3 separate regions of the Homo sapiens genome follow, and regions 2 and 3 are each linked to region 1. Evidence: promoter capture Hi-C in 16 types of primary human blood cells and fetal thymus (Javierre and others, 2016). All regions are on one chromosome and are shown on one strand. Each heading gives the region's core, a stretch centred on a gene start or on the middle of the fragment in contact. The rest is flanking DNA. Distances are from core to core; before and after follow the strand shown.

The links. Contacts are between HindIII fragments. The CHiCAGO score rates a contact against its expected background, and 5 or more counts as called.
Region 2: a contact is called between a fragment that was not itself captured here and the fragment with the promoter of FTL in region 1, in 1 of 17 cell types (endothelial precursors). The highest score is 5.6, in endothelial precursors.
Region 3: a contact is called between a fragment that was not itself captured here and the fragment with the promoter of FTL in region 1, in 3 of 17 cell types (endothelial precursors, erythroblasts and M0 macrophages). The highest score is 8.1, in endothelial precursors.

What each region holds. Positions count from the first base shown.
Region 1 is chr19:48,962,713-48,967,402 of GRCh38, forward strand. FTL (ferritin light chain) reads left to right here and starts at 2,597. Exons shown (of 4, transcript NM_000146.4): 1 at 2,597-2,897; 2 at 3,058-3,204; 3 at 3,569-3,694; 4 at 3,871-4,167. The coding sequence starts at 2,796. The coding sequence ends at 4,023. RefSeq lists cis regulatory regions at 1-56, 996-1,496, enhancers at 1,178-1,287, 2,837-2,886 and a silencer at 2,427-2,586. The HindIII fragment of the contact is 1,823 bases long and covers 2,091-3,913 here.
Region 2 is chr19:48,614,292-48,617,847 of GRCh38, forward strand. FAM83E (family with sequence similarity 83 member E) reads right to left here and starts at 785. Exons shown (of 7, transcript NM_017708.4): 1 at 646-785; 2 at 417-548; 3 at 1-336. RPL18 (ribosomal protein L18) reads right to left here. Exons shown (of 7, transcript NM_000979.4): 2 at 3,500-3,556; 3 at 3,025-3,132; 4 at 2,435-2,533; 5 at 1,788-1,911; 6 at 1,586-1,655; 7 at 1,040-1,156. The coding sequence ends at 1,081. RefSeq lists enhancers at 201-1,032, 269-318, 469-528, 1,033-1,864, 1,865-2,695 and 2 more. The HindIII fragment of the contact is 962 bases long and covers 1,274-2,235 here.
Region 3 is chr19:48,672,806-48,677,495 of GRCh38, forward strand. LOC105372431 (a long non-coding RNA gene) reads right to left here. Exons shown (of 3, transcript XR_936016.3): 1 at 4,222-4,690; 2 at 2,436-2,826; 3 at 341-982. NTN5 (netrin 5) reads right to left here and starts at 212. Exons shown (of 7, transcript NM_145807.4): 1 at 127-212. It also overlaps the pseudogene SEC1P. RefSeq lists enhancers at 1,769-2,417, 2,418-3,065 and a silencer at 2,691-2,840. The HindIII fragment of the contact is 466 bases long and covers 1,770-2,235 here.

The DNA of each region.
Region 1 (4,690 bases), core at 1,347-3,846:
CTGTTCCCACCCCACCTTTGGCCCTCTTTCTCTGGGCCTCTTTCCACCCCTGGCACCCAGACCTCTGGCCCCCTCTCTCTGGGTCTCTGTCCCCCCCTCTGGATCTCTGGCCCCCCATCTCTCTCTGGGTCTGTCCCCCGACCCTGAGTTTCTGTCTCCCTCTCTCTGGGTCTCTGTCCTCTCTCTGGCTGTCACTCTCTCTTGGGTCTCTGTACCTCCCCTCTCTCTGGGTCTCTTTCCCTCTCCCCGGTCTCTGTCCCCCGCCCCCGGGTCCCTGTCCCCGCCCCCCCAGGTCTCAGTCCTCCCTAGTCTCTGTCCCCTTCTCTCTGAGTCCCTGTCCCCCCTCTCTCTGGGTCTCTGTACCCCCTTCTCTGGATCTCTGTCCCCACCTCTCTCTGGATCTCTGTCCCCCACTCTGGATTTCTGTCCCCTCCCGCCGGGTCCCTCTGGGTCTCTATCCCCCCCACCCCTGGGTCTCTGTACCTCCCTGCCTCTGTCCCCCCCCACCTCTGTCCCCCCCTCTCTCTGGGTCTCTTTTCCCCTCCCTCTGGGTCTCTGCCCTCCTCTCTCTAGGTCTGTCCCCCTCCCCTCTCTCTCAGGGTCTCTGTACCCCTCTGTCTCCGGGTCTGTTTTCCCCTCTCTCTGGGTCTCTGTCCCCCTCTCTCTCAGGGTCTCTGTCTGAGTCTCTTTTTCTCTGGGCCTCTGTCTCCCCACCCCACGTTCTCTATGGTCTTCAGATCCTGTCTCTCTCAGCCCCTCCTCTCCCTCCACCTATGGGCCCCAAGGCCCCTCTCGGCCGACTAAAGGTCTCTGGGCTGAGGTATGACATTTGGTAAATGAGTAACTCGGGCCCCACAGTCAACGGGGTGCTTTGGACGGCTGCCCCTCCTCCATGGACTCTTCCCAGAGACCCCAAGTCAGGGGAGAGAGAGGGGCAGAGGATCAATGAGTGTACACTGAGCCACCACCCAGAGTGAGGGGACAATATGGCCACAGGCAGGATCCCAGAAAAAAAAAAATTATGGGAACCAAAAAGACACGGAGACAAAGCACACAGCCGGCTTCCAACAAGGGGGGACCTTGGGGTAGGGGGCCCGATTTGGGTCTGAGCCAGGTCTAGTTCTGAGGGTCCCACCAAAAAAGTCGGGGAGTGCCAAGGGGATGAGGTCAGCGAGTGGCCCCACCCCCATCCGTCCCCGCGGGGGCCCCTTCCCGCGCTGAGCTCAGCATGACTCAGCAGTCGCTGCCTGCAACAAGGACCCCAGATACCGGCCTGGCGGGGCATCTGCAGATCCCCTCGGTCAGGGGCTGCCCCGCCTGGGCTGTTCGGAGCAGCTCCTCTGTAGGGCAGGGCCTGACCTCACCCCACACCCCAGTGGCTTCAGCTCCCTGCCCAGCGCACGGGCTGCCTCCATCAGGGCACTTAAGTAGAGTCAAGGTTTGCGCCGACTCCGTCTCCCAGAAATCAACGTGGACCAGGCCCACTTAAAAAATATGCATTAGTCGAAGACAGACGTCTCGTCCATAGGTCCCCAGACTGTTTGTCCACAACGCAGGGCTTCTCTTTGTGGGCCTGAAGGAGCACACGTCAGGCAAGACACGAGGGCAACTTCAGAGACACTGTTCAGGGCCACGGAGAATTCTCGAAGTCTGTGAGTTGTCTCCAAAACAGCCTCCAGGAAATGCAATCCCAGAGACACCGCAAAGCTCAAAACAGACTTTTCATTCCTCCCCATTTCCACTCCCAGAAAAAGCCTGGGCCCCTGAAAGAGCTCCAAGGTATCCCCAAAGTCCCAGCCCATCTTTGGAGGGTTCCAGAGGGCTGTCCAGGGTTCCAGAAGTCACCCTACCTCATACAATGCTCCTCCTGGGCTTCCCGCACTGGGTGAAACCCACGGCTCCAGAATAACTGCCCTTTCCAACTTGCAGAGCACCTCAAGAACCTAAAGATTTCCCCGGGGAGGGCTCCAAAATATAGAGAGTTTGCATCGTGAACCCCCACCCCTGTAAATCCCAGGACTCCAGTCCCCGCAACACTCCATCTTCCAGAGATCTCCAGGGGTCCAGAAATAACACCTCACAGCCTTCCAAGCTTCCCAAGGATCCGGAGACTCCTTATCTCGCAGCGCAAACCTCAGGCAACTACAGGTCCTCCCTGCACCTTTGAGGTGCCCCTCCCCCCACTCAAGGTTCCAGAAAAATCCATGCCCTCGGAAACCCCAGAATCTTACTTTCCCGAGGCACCCCAGGACCCCAGGGTCATCAGTTCACAGGGCTGTTAGTGCTCCCATAAAACTCTAGCCTCCCAGAGGGACCCCAGCCCCCACCCTCCCGCCCACGAACCCCTGCATTTCCAGAATCAGCCCCAGGGCCCCAACCCCCCCAAGCCCCCATTTCACAACACGCTGGCGCTACAGGCGCGTGACTTCCCCTTGCTTTGGGGCGGGGGGCTGAGACTCCTATGTGCTCCGGATTGGTCAGGCACGGCCTTCGGCCCCGCCTCCTGCCACCGCAGATTGGCCGCTAGCCCTCCCCGAGCGCCCTGCCTCCGAGGGCCGGCGCACCATAAAAGAAGCCGCCCTAGCCACGTCCCCTCGCAGTTCGGCGGTCCCGCGGGTCTGTCTCTTGCTTCAACAGTGTTTGGACGGAACAGATCCGGGGACTCTCTTCCAGCCTCCGACCGCCCTCCGATTTCCTCTCCGCTTGCAACCTCCGGGACCATCTTCTCGGCCATCTCCTGCTTCTGGGACCTGCCAGCACCGTTTTTGTGGTTAGCTCCTTCTTGCCAACCAACCATGAGCTCCCAGATTCGTCAGAATTATTCCACCGACGTGGAGGCAGCCGTCAACAGCCTGGTCAATTTGTACCTGCAGGCCTCCTACACCTACCTCTCTCTGGTGAGTCCCCAGGACGCCCCTGGCCCTAATTTCCTCCAGCTGCGCACCTCCGGCCCTCACTGCACGCGCCAGCCTTCTTTGTGCGGTCGGGTAAACAGAGGGCGGAGTCCCCTTGGCCTCGCCTCCCGCTAACCATTGTTGCCTCCATCTCTTCCCGTAGGGCTTCTATTTCGACCGCGATGATGTGGCTCTGGAAGGCGTGAGCCACTTCTTCCGCGAATTGGCCGAGGAGAAGCGCGAGGGCTACGAGCGTCTCCTGAAGATGCAAAACCAGCGTGGCGGCCGCGCTCTCTTCCAGGACATCAAGGTAACTAGTGTGTGGGTAATGGACTACATCTCCCAGCAGGCCGTGCGCGCGAGGAGCCTTGATTTGAGGGCGTAGGTGTCGCGTGGGCTTCTGGGAGATTGAGTTCGGTCTTGTGAGCCCTCTTAACCGCTGGAAATAGAGGCGCACCTCGTGCAGTGCCCACAACACGCGGCAGTCCACACCGCTGCGTGGTCTTAGGGACGTATAGCTGTAAGAGCTAGGACAGGGTGCGGAGAGTGATAAATACAAGCTGTCACATGTCTTTGTGGCCTGGGCCTCTGACCCCCAACGACTCTTGGGAAATGTAGGTTTAGTTCTATGTGCCGAGTGTGTGTATTCTGAGCCATTTCTCCCTTCTATATAGAAGCCAGCTGAAGATGAGTGGGGTAAAACCCCAGACGCCATGAAAGCTGCCATGGCCCTGGAGAAAAAGCTGAACCAGGCCCTTTTGGATCTTCATGCCCTGGGTTCTGCCCGCACGGACCCCCATGTACGTACCCGCTGCATCCATGGCTACCCAACCATACCCCTCAAGCCTCTGCTCCCTTTGGGCAAATTTCCTTCAGAGCCTCATTTCACACCTGTCACATTTTAATCTGCAACTGGCTGCTCTCTCCCCCTCTTTTCCAGGGATTGGGTTTCTAATTTCTCCCTCTTCTCTCTCAGCTCTGTGACTTCCTGGAGACTCACTTCCTAGATGAGGAAGTGAAGCTTATCAAGAAGATGGGTGACCACCTGACCAACCTCCACAGGCTGGGTGGCCCGGAGGCTGGGCTGGGCGAGTATCTCTTCGAAAGGCTCACTCTCAAGCACGACTAAGAGCCTTCTGAGCCCAGCGACTTCTGAAGGGCCCCTTGCAAAGTAATAGGGCTTCTGCCTAAGCCTCTCCCTCCAGCCAATAGGCAGCTTTCTTAACTATCCTAACAAGCCTTGGACCAAATGGAAATAAAGCTTTTTGATGCAGCTGGTGGTTTTGTGTGTGGTGTGGAAGATGAGGTGGGATCTGTTCTCATAAAGCTTCTGGCTGGGTTGGGATGCCAGTGAAAGAGGAGTTGGCCCCATCTCCCATTTTCTTAACTGTCCTAAGACAAGAGGCTATCTGGGTAGTGTTGAACCTGAGGGTTCTCTGCTTGCCTGGCTGTTAACTGTCCCTCCCAGATGGTAGAGATAGACTCCAGGGAGTTGAATTAAGACCTAGGTTGGTATCTAGAAACAGATGTTAGGTCTCAGCCAGAAACAGCCCTATTTAACGAGTGATTATGGGGCCAGGTGGGTCGCTCACCTGATGTCAGGAGTTCGAGACCAGCCTGACCAACATGAAGAAACCCCGTCTCTACTAAAATACAAAATTAGCTGGGTGTGGTGGCTCATACCTGTAATCCCAGCTAGTCAGGAGGTTGAGGTAGGAGAATCGCTTGAATCTGGGAGGCGGAGGTTGCAGTGAGCTGAGATGGCGTCATTGCACTCCAGCCTGGGCAAAAAGAGT
Region 2 (3,556 bases), core at 505-3,004, 350 kb before region 1:
ACCTAACCAGCCACCCTCCTCAGGCTGGCTGCCCCTGCCTGGGGCCTGGCCCTGGGACCTGTTCCAGGCCGTCCTCTGATCTGCGGGGAGCCCTACCCAAGCTGCCCCCAGCCTGGTTTCTGCCTAAATGCTATCTCCTGCCAGCTACCCGGACGCTTCTTCCCGGACAGGGGCCAGTCTCTATCTCGCCCTGTCTCCCTCCCAAGCCTCAGTTATCCCCTTGAGGCTCCTGACCCAACCTCGGGGACCCTGGACCCTTGATCCCTGCAAACCAGAAGCCCTTCATTCCAATCCCACCAACCCAGGCCGCTGCTTCCTCCAGACCACAGCAGGGAGCTGCAAAGAGAAGAAAGGAGTCAAGGCAGGCCAGCCTCCCCGCCCCACCCTCACCCATCCCCCCCATCGCCGGGGCTCACCCACACCGGCTAGTGCCGGGCTCAATGGCCTCCCTTCCAGTGCCTGCTTTTTCCGAGAACGTAGGCTGTGGCTCCCCGGCTTCTACTTCTGCGGTGCTTCCCGGCTTCTGGCCTCACTCATCAGGCCTCGACCTGGAATCCAGGGAGCCCGGCCCCTTGTGTAAACACAGGAGGGCCCCCACAGGCCCCTGGAGGAGGTCCGGGGGTGCGGCTCACACGCTTTCTTTACCTGTGCTCTCCCAGGGGGTGAACGCCCCTCTAGACTCAGGCTTCCCGGTCCCCGGGGGGTTGAGATTGCCTCACCTGTTCCCAGGCAGTCTCTCCCTCCCCACAGCCCTGCCAGCCTGCACCCTGCACTTCCCGGTCCACGCCCCACCCGCCATCCCAGCACCAGGGAGGGGCACAGGATCCTTTAAGAGGGGCGGGCGTGGCTGACCCAAGGAAGCCGGTGTGGGAACACCTGCCACCTGGCTGTTGGGAAGGAGGCAGGGAGCTTCCGGGGCAGTGGGGGCAGGAAGAGGGCTGGTCTTCACTGGCATGACGTCCCTGTCCCCAAACCAAATGCATTCTCACCCGCAGGAACCAATTCTCCAACCCATCCCCCAATAACACACACAGAGCACTGTCAGCAAAAATCTTTTTAATAAGAGAGTAGGATCCAGGGTTAGTTTTTGTAGCCTCGGCTGGCCCGTCGGCCTCTGGCACGCTCGAACTTCCGGCCCTTGGAGCGGACGTAGGGTCTGTGGGGAGAGGAGGGAGTGAGAGGGGGGCCCTCTTAAAGGAGGCCATTGTGGAGTGGCACAGGAACACCACAAGCCTGTCACATTCAGCCCCAGGAGAGTCAATGCTGCTGGAAAAGCTTGGCAGAGTGGGAAGCCAAGGAGCCAGGAGGGGCTATGGAAGCACCTGCCCCACCACCTGGAGGGTCCCAGCCTGGGCTGGCAAAGGCCGGTGAACTGCATGCTCCCCAGGAGATGCCTGCTCAGGCCCTGGAAAACACAGCTCCAAGCAGTGTTGAAGGGAAAAGCAGGCAGGATGAGGCAGCTGAGAGTTCCAGAAGGCCTGGGGCTGGCTGGTACGAGGGATAGGAGAAGCAGCCCAAGTGTGGCCAGGCCTGGCCCTGCAGGCTGAGTCTGGGGAGAGGGCAGGGCTGGGGGCCTGATACTCACTTGGTGTGGCTGTGCGGGGTTCCTGGGGCCTTGCCGAAATGCCGGTACACCTCTCGGCCCTTGCGAGGACCTAGGGAAGGGGAAGGAGAACCGGGTGAGACAGGGATCTGGCGCCCAGCTTCTGGCCTCCCAGATCCAGGAGGGTGAAGGCTGCCAGTAGCCACACAGCTCAGTCCAAACCCGTCGACCACGTATCACTCACCGGAGAGCAGGACAGTGCCACAGCCCTTAGGGGAGTCCAGGGCCAGCTGGTCGAAAGTGAGGATCTTGCCCCCTGCCCTGAGGATGCGGCTGCGGGCCCGGCTGGTCACGCGCAGTGCACATACCTGGTGGAGAGGACAAGGCTGGCGGGTCAGACCCCTGCGTGGTCACCCAGGGGCTGCCAGGACTCACCCTCCACTGCCTTGGCGCAGCAGAGCCCTGGTAACCAACACTATCGTTTACTACCCGGAGCACCCTGGGCTGACAGCAGCAGTTCTCAACACTTCCGGAACTTTCACCACCACATCCCTGGTGTTATGCTAGAAACTACAGCAAGGAAGCTGGGCCAAAAAAAGACCTGTGCAGAGGTGACAAAGGAGTCTAGACTTGAGCCCAGGCTGTCTGGCTCTAGGGGCCAGCACTAACAGTTTACAACTTGCCCCAGAAGAAGCTTGCCCAGGGGACCCCACCATCAACCATGCCAGAGACGACCCACACCAATCCTCAAAGCCACTCAGACAGGCAGGATGCTTGCCTCACCAGCGGTGGCAAGACTGAGGATGGACCAGCACAGCACAGCACAGCACAGCACAGCACAGCACAGTACAGCAAGGGTCTGATGGGTCTGCCCAGCCCCCGCCAGCTCACCTTCAGTTTGGGTACCTCCTGAACCCGCACATCATCAGTTATGGTCCCCACAACCACGGCCGTCTTGTTTTCCCGGCCAGGAAGCTTCATCTTCCGGATCTTAGGGTGGGGAGGATGTACGTCGTAAGTTGTTCTGGTGTTTACATTCAGCCCCGCTTGAGGCATCCCCAGGCCAGGGCAGCTGTGCCCTCTAACGGGACCCCCCACTCACACCACACCCCTTAAACCCCACAGGCCTCTCCTCAGGTCCAGCTGGGGAAAGCTCCAGATAAAAAAAAAAATGCAGACTGTTCAATAGGGCCTCCCTCAGCAGAGCCTTTGACATAAAACTCAGTTATGACTTGGGGCAATCTCCTGAAGCCACCAGGACACCTCCACCTCACAAAGAGAAGGAGAGGAGGACCAGGAGACTTGCCCACTGCCCATGGACACTCAGTTCCAACCAACAGTCCAAGCTCTACGCTCGCGACTGGCTGAGACAAACCCTTGATGCCCTGGTTGCTCCCAGAGCTCCAAGTCCTGCCTCCCTTCCAGACAGACAAGACCCAGCGGCTCCCAGGTCTACCGTGCTCTCTGGACCAGCCACTCACCATCCGGGAAAGGGACAGAGGCGGCCGGTTGGTGCGACTCATAAACAACCTCTTCAACACAACCTGGTTGAATGTGGAGTTGGTTCTTCTGGCCAGAAACCTGTATAACTGGAGGGACGGGAAGACAGTGAGAAGCTGGGACAGCCTGCTCCCCCGCAGCCTTCCAGTGAAGGGGCAAACACATGATGATCTGGACTAAAATAATCTTTATCCCTTTCCCCCAACCCACCGACCTAGAGGGAGAAAGCTGGCCCAGGTCCTTCCTGGCCAAGGACCTAGAAAATCCTGGCTCCACTCCCGAGCTGTACACAGCCTAGAGGCTGAAAATACAAATGCAGGAGACCCTGGAACAGAACCAGAGACCCGAGACTGCTCTGCAGGCCCCTGGGAGGAGCTTGGTGCCAGCACTAGAATGGAGGATCTGCAAGTCAGACCTGGGGTGACCCTTCCCAAAGACCTCAGGGCCCAGCCTCACCTTGACCAACAGCCTCAGGTAGATATCCTGGCTCTTGGGCTCCTTGCGCCGAACCTT
Region 3 (4,690 bases), core at 753-3,252, 290 kb before region 1:
CTCCCAGCAGACTCATAGGAGGCCTGCCTGGGCGGCCTGGGGTCCATCTGGGACCCAGGCTTCCTTTCCCTGGCTCTTGGCATGCACCCCCCAACCCGAGCCCTGAGGCCCCGACATTGGCCAAACCTGCACTCAAGAAGAGAGCGTCCTGCAGCCAGTTCCCCGCAGGCTCTTCCTCCAAGCTGTGGCGCGGTGGGCTCTCAGGAGGGAGTGGCGTGGCTGTTCTCAGGCCCCAGGCTAGTGGGGTTTCTGGGCTGGGCGGGGGCTCAGAGCAGAGCCCGCAGAATCTAACACCGCCACCCCCCTCCCACCCCAATCCCTCACCAACCGCAGCCACGCTATCCCCACAGGGACCCCTGCCAGCCAGGCCACCCGCAACGGTGTGGGACGTGAGTGCCGTTGCCCCCGGCGGTCCAGCAGCAGGACAGCCCCGAGCAGCCTGGCCTAGGAGGCTCACCGCAGGTAGGACGGGAGGCTGTCAGTCGGGGGTCCCGCTCCATCCCACTCCACCCCTGCCCACTGGCTCAGCCCCGCCTTGTGGTGGCCGCCATCGCGATCGGGCAGGGGCTGACCTTTGGGAGACAATCGCTGTTGGAAACTTTGCTCAGCCCCTGCCTCTGGCTGCGTGACCCCAAGCCAGCCCCTCCTCCTCCTCTCTGGAACCTTTTGTCAGCTGTGGGTTCACCGAGCCTTAAGGTCAGTAAAATCTGTGCTCTTGGAAGGTTCAGACCAGCCCCTGGAATTCAAAAGACCTCAGTCGCTTTCTAAGATGGTGGGGAAGGCGACAAATGAGCTGAGAACACCTGGGCCCCAGTGTTTCTCATGCGGCAGAGGGAGAAGGCGGGGACCCCCGGGGTGCGGGGGACCAAGCTCAAAAGCACCTCCCCAGTGCCGCTGGTGTCCTGCGAGTCCTCAGTGCTTTCATCGTGACATTTTCATGCGAATGTTGCTGTCTGTTCTATTCCATCTCCGAATGGGTTGACTAGAAAAATAATGTTTTCTGTCACTTCCCGCTGAGAAAAGCAAGGGCCTCATGGAGTTGGGGCGCGGCACCTGCTGCCCTGGGTGGCCCCAGCGTTTATCGTGGTGTAGCGTGGGCCCAATCCTGACAGGCTTGGGACCCACTGCCCCAGGCCCGCCCCCAGGGGGTGCGAGGGCACAGCAAAGGCGACCCTCGACTCTGGACCCTTAGGTACCACGTTGGAGGGGGCCAGATTTGGCAGGAGCAGGACAGGGACATCGGATTTGAAAGAAGGGAGTCACTCCGAAAGCTGGGAGGTGCATCAGCTGCAGGAGGATGGAATGGGGCTGAGACGCCCCCCATCAGAGGGGGCATGTCAGAGCTGGGGGCCCAGGCTGTGTGAGTCAGAGTGGAACTTCGGGATTCAGGCGCAGGTCCCTCCGCTGACCCTGCCTGAGCTCCCCCTGTATGGGACTTTGCCGGGGGTTCGCGCTGGGAACACAGACCCCTGCCCCATCAGGCTCAGTGTCCAGAGAGGGAGGGGGAGACCCCAGCAGCGCAGGTCCTTCTGTGCTCTAGGTTGTTGGAAGGTGCCAAGTGCCTTGGAGCAAAGCAAGTGGGGGGGGCGGCCACGGGGGCCCGGGGATTGCAGATGTAAGTGGGGTGATGCGGAGGGGCATTTGTGCTGAGCCCACCGCCAGCACAGAACCCAGCTTTGCTGCCACACAAAACTGAGGAAGAAGGCTTAGGTCTCGCTGCGTCTTCCTCCCCACCTGGGCGAAGTCTCAAGCTCCGGCTCCTGGAGGGAAGCTTTTGTTCCTTGCAGCTTGAGCTGCCTGAGTTGATGGGCGCCCCTGCGGGTGCCCGGGGGCAGGCGGGGAAGAACAGACGGAGCTGCCACAGCCGAGCACATAGTGCCCCAAGCTGGGAAGGAGACTGTTTTTTTTGTTGGGGAGAGTTCTTTAAGGGCTGGAGACCTTCACCCTCACAGCTTCTACAGAAGGCCAGGCCTGCCCAAGGCACATCTCTGAGGTGGGTTCAACCCAGAGAGAACCTCAGTGCTGGGCTCACACAGACCTCTAACCCCTGCCTTGGTGGCCCAGATATAACGGAGTCTCCACGAGGCAGGGCAGGTCACCCGCAGGAGTTACTGGGCATTGTGTGGCTGGGTAGGGCCTGCCCTCCCGGACATGTTCAAAAAGGCCAGGATGGTAACCCCAGCCATACTGCCTGGGTTCAAATCCACCTCTGTCCTAGCTGTGTGACCGAGAACAAGCTTCTTAACCTCTCTGTGCCTTCATTTCCTCATCTGTTAAATGAGGAAGAAAGAATGGACCTTCCTCATGGTGGGCGGAGGGGGTCATGAGGACTGAATGAGCTGACATGCCCACGGGTTCTTATCTGAGCTCTCTGGGAAAGTCGTGTTCCGGAACCTTCTGCTTCCTGGCCCTGTTGTCGGATGCATAGTACGTACGTGACATGGCATCCATGGTAGGTCTGGGCCGCATCACATTGTCAAACATGTTATGTTTTAGGCAGCAGAGCACATGGGTGTTCACAGTAAGAGAAGTAAAGTCTGCAAATAGCCACATGACCCTCCTCCAAGCCAGGGTTGTCCCCAGATGAGTTCAGTCCAGGTTGGCGTTTGCCGCTCCCCCTGAGGAAAATGGCTGACAAGGAATCGCGGACCAGGACAGCCAGCCCCGTGATGGGCCTGCCCGCCAGCACCCTCGCAGCCTCGGCCTTGGCTGGTGCTTTTCTGCGGCTTTCTGGTTGTCTAGGCTGAGAACAGCCACAAGAGGGAGCACCTGAGATTCCAGGAGAAGCCAGAGCAGCCGCGGTACCCACTGCTTGATCTGCAGGGCCTGGGGGAAAATGCAGACACAGGACCCCTTGTTTAGAATTTATGAAGGATTTTAAGACGGCAACACCAGATCATTAAAGCAAGCGTGGGGCCTGTCTCAGCGCAACTGCACGAGTCACACAAAATGAAGGCGGACCCCGCGGGGGGCACCCTTGTCCTGAGCTGGTTTCCCTTGGCCAGTGACCCAGGCTCCTGTCCCTGCCCTGCACCCCCACTGACCCCAGCTCTAGCCTTGGGACCTGCCTGGGGGCTCCAGCTGGGCTCAGAGCTCAGCTCCTTCTCCGTGGGGCAGGACCCTGAGTTGAGTGGATGGCAAGATCATGTTTGGGACACAGTTTTCACCAGCTCAGTGAAAAAAGGCTTGGGCAGATTTAATTCACTTTTTGCAAACTAAAGCAGCACCAGGAGCATTTTTCTTAGGCCTTAGGCCAGCTGGCCTTGCTGGGGACCCACACGAGACTTTCAAGGAGGGCCCCAGAGTGTTCAGGCTTCTCAGAAGGGTCAGATGAACCAAATGAGGAGCCCTGGAATAGAGGAGGATGACAGCTGAAGAGGCCTGGAGGGCCCCAGATTGTTCAGGCTTCTCAGAAGGGCCAGATGAACCAAATGAGGAGCCCTGGAATAGAGGAGGATGACAGTTGAAGAGGCCTGTAGGCCCCCGATGTTTAAGAGGACAGGCGGAGGGAGAGATGGGGAGCCGGGAGGGGTGAGGCAGAAGCCAGAAGTTTTAGGGGTGAGCCCATGCCAACCAGGGCTTCAGCAGGAATGGGGTGGGAGGGAGGGGGTGAAGGGATGACTGCTGAGCTGTAGCCATTGGAGTGGCCACAGGGAAACCATAGGACATTGGTCAGAGGAGTGGACAAGGGGAGAAGAGAAAGCCGATCAGGACATGGTAGAGGCTGGGAGCAGAGGACCTTCTGGGAGCCCTGGGGAGAGCTGGAGGAGACTCGGAAAGAGCAGCCCCCGGAGAAGGGACCATCCATCCCACGGCGAGGACCGGGACCGAGGTCCTTGGAGCCCAGTCAGGCCCAGTGGTCAGGGCTGGACCTGGAGGTGAATAGGTGTGGGCCCCACGGTGAGATGGCCCTGCACACCCACCACAACCAAACACGACGGCGAGCGAGGCTGGGAAATGGGGCCTTCCCGTACTGCTGGTGGAAACGGAAACTGGGGCAGCCACCTGGCAGCTCCCAAAACGATTCAACGTAGAGTTCACCCTGTGACCCAGCACACAGGTTCGTGGCAGCACTATTTGCAACAGCCGAAAACTGGAAACAACTCCAGTGCCTATCACCTGATGAGTGAATACATTGTGGTCTACCTGGACAATGGGACTTTCAGTCTTGAAAGGAGTGAGGCAATTATCTGGGCGTGGTGGCTGTACCTGTAGTCCTACCTGTAGTCCCAGCTACTCGGGAGGCTGACGCAGGAGAATCACTGAAACCCAGGAGGTAGAAGTTGCAGTGAGCCGAGATTGCGCCATTGCACTCCAGCCTGAGCGACAGAGTGAGACACCGTCTCAAAAAAAGAAAAAGAAAAGAAAGGCGTGAGGCTGTGACACGTGCTATAGTGTGGATGGACCTTGAAACACGGTGCCGAGTGAGGAAGCCAGACTCGGAAGGCCATGGAGTGTGTGATTGCAGTCACATGAAAAATCGAGAATAGGCAAATCCATAAAGACAGAAAGGAGATTACTTGGTGGGGGGACAAGGAACAGGGAAGATTGTGGGGAGATGGTTAAAGGGTGTGGGTTTTTTTGGGAGGGGGGCTATGCAAATATTCAAAAATTGATTGTGCTGGTTGCACAGCTCTGTAAATATACTAAAAGCCATTAAATCGCACACCTTACGTGGGTGAATGGTAGG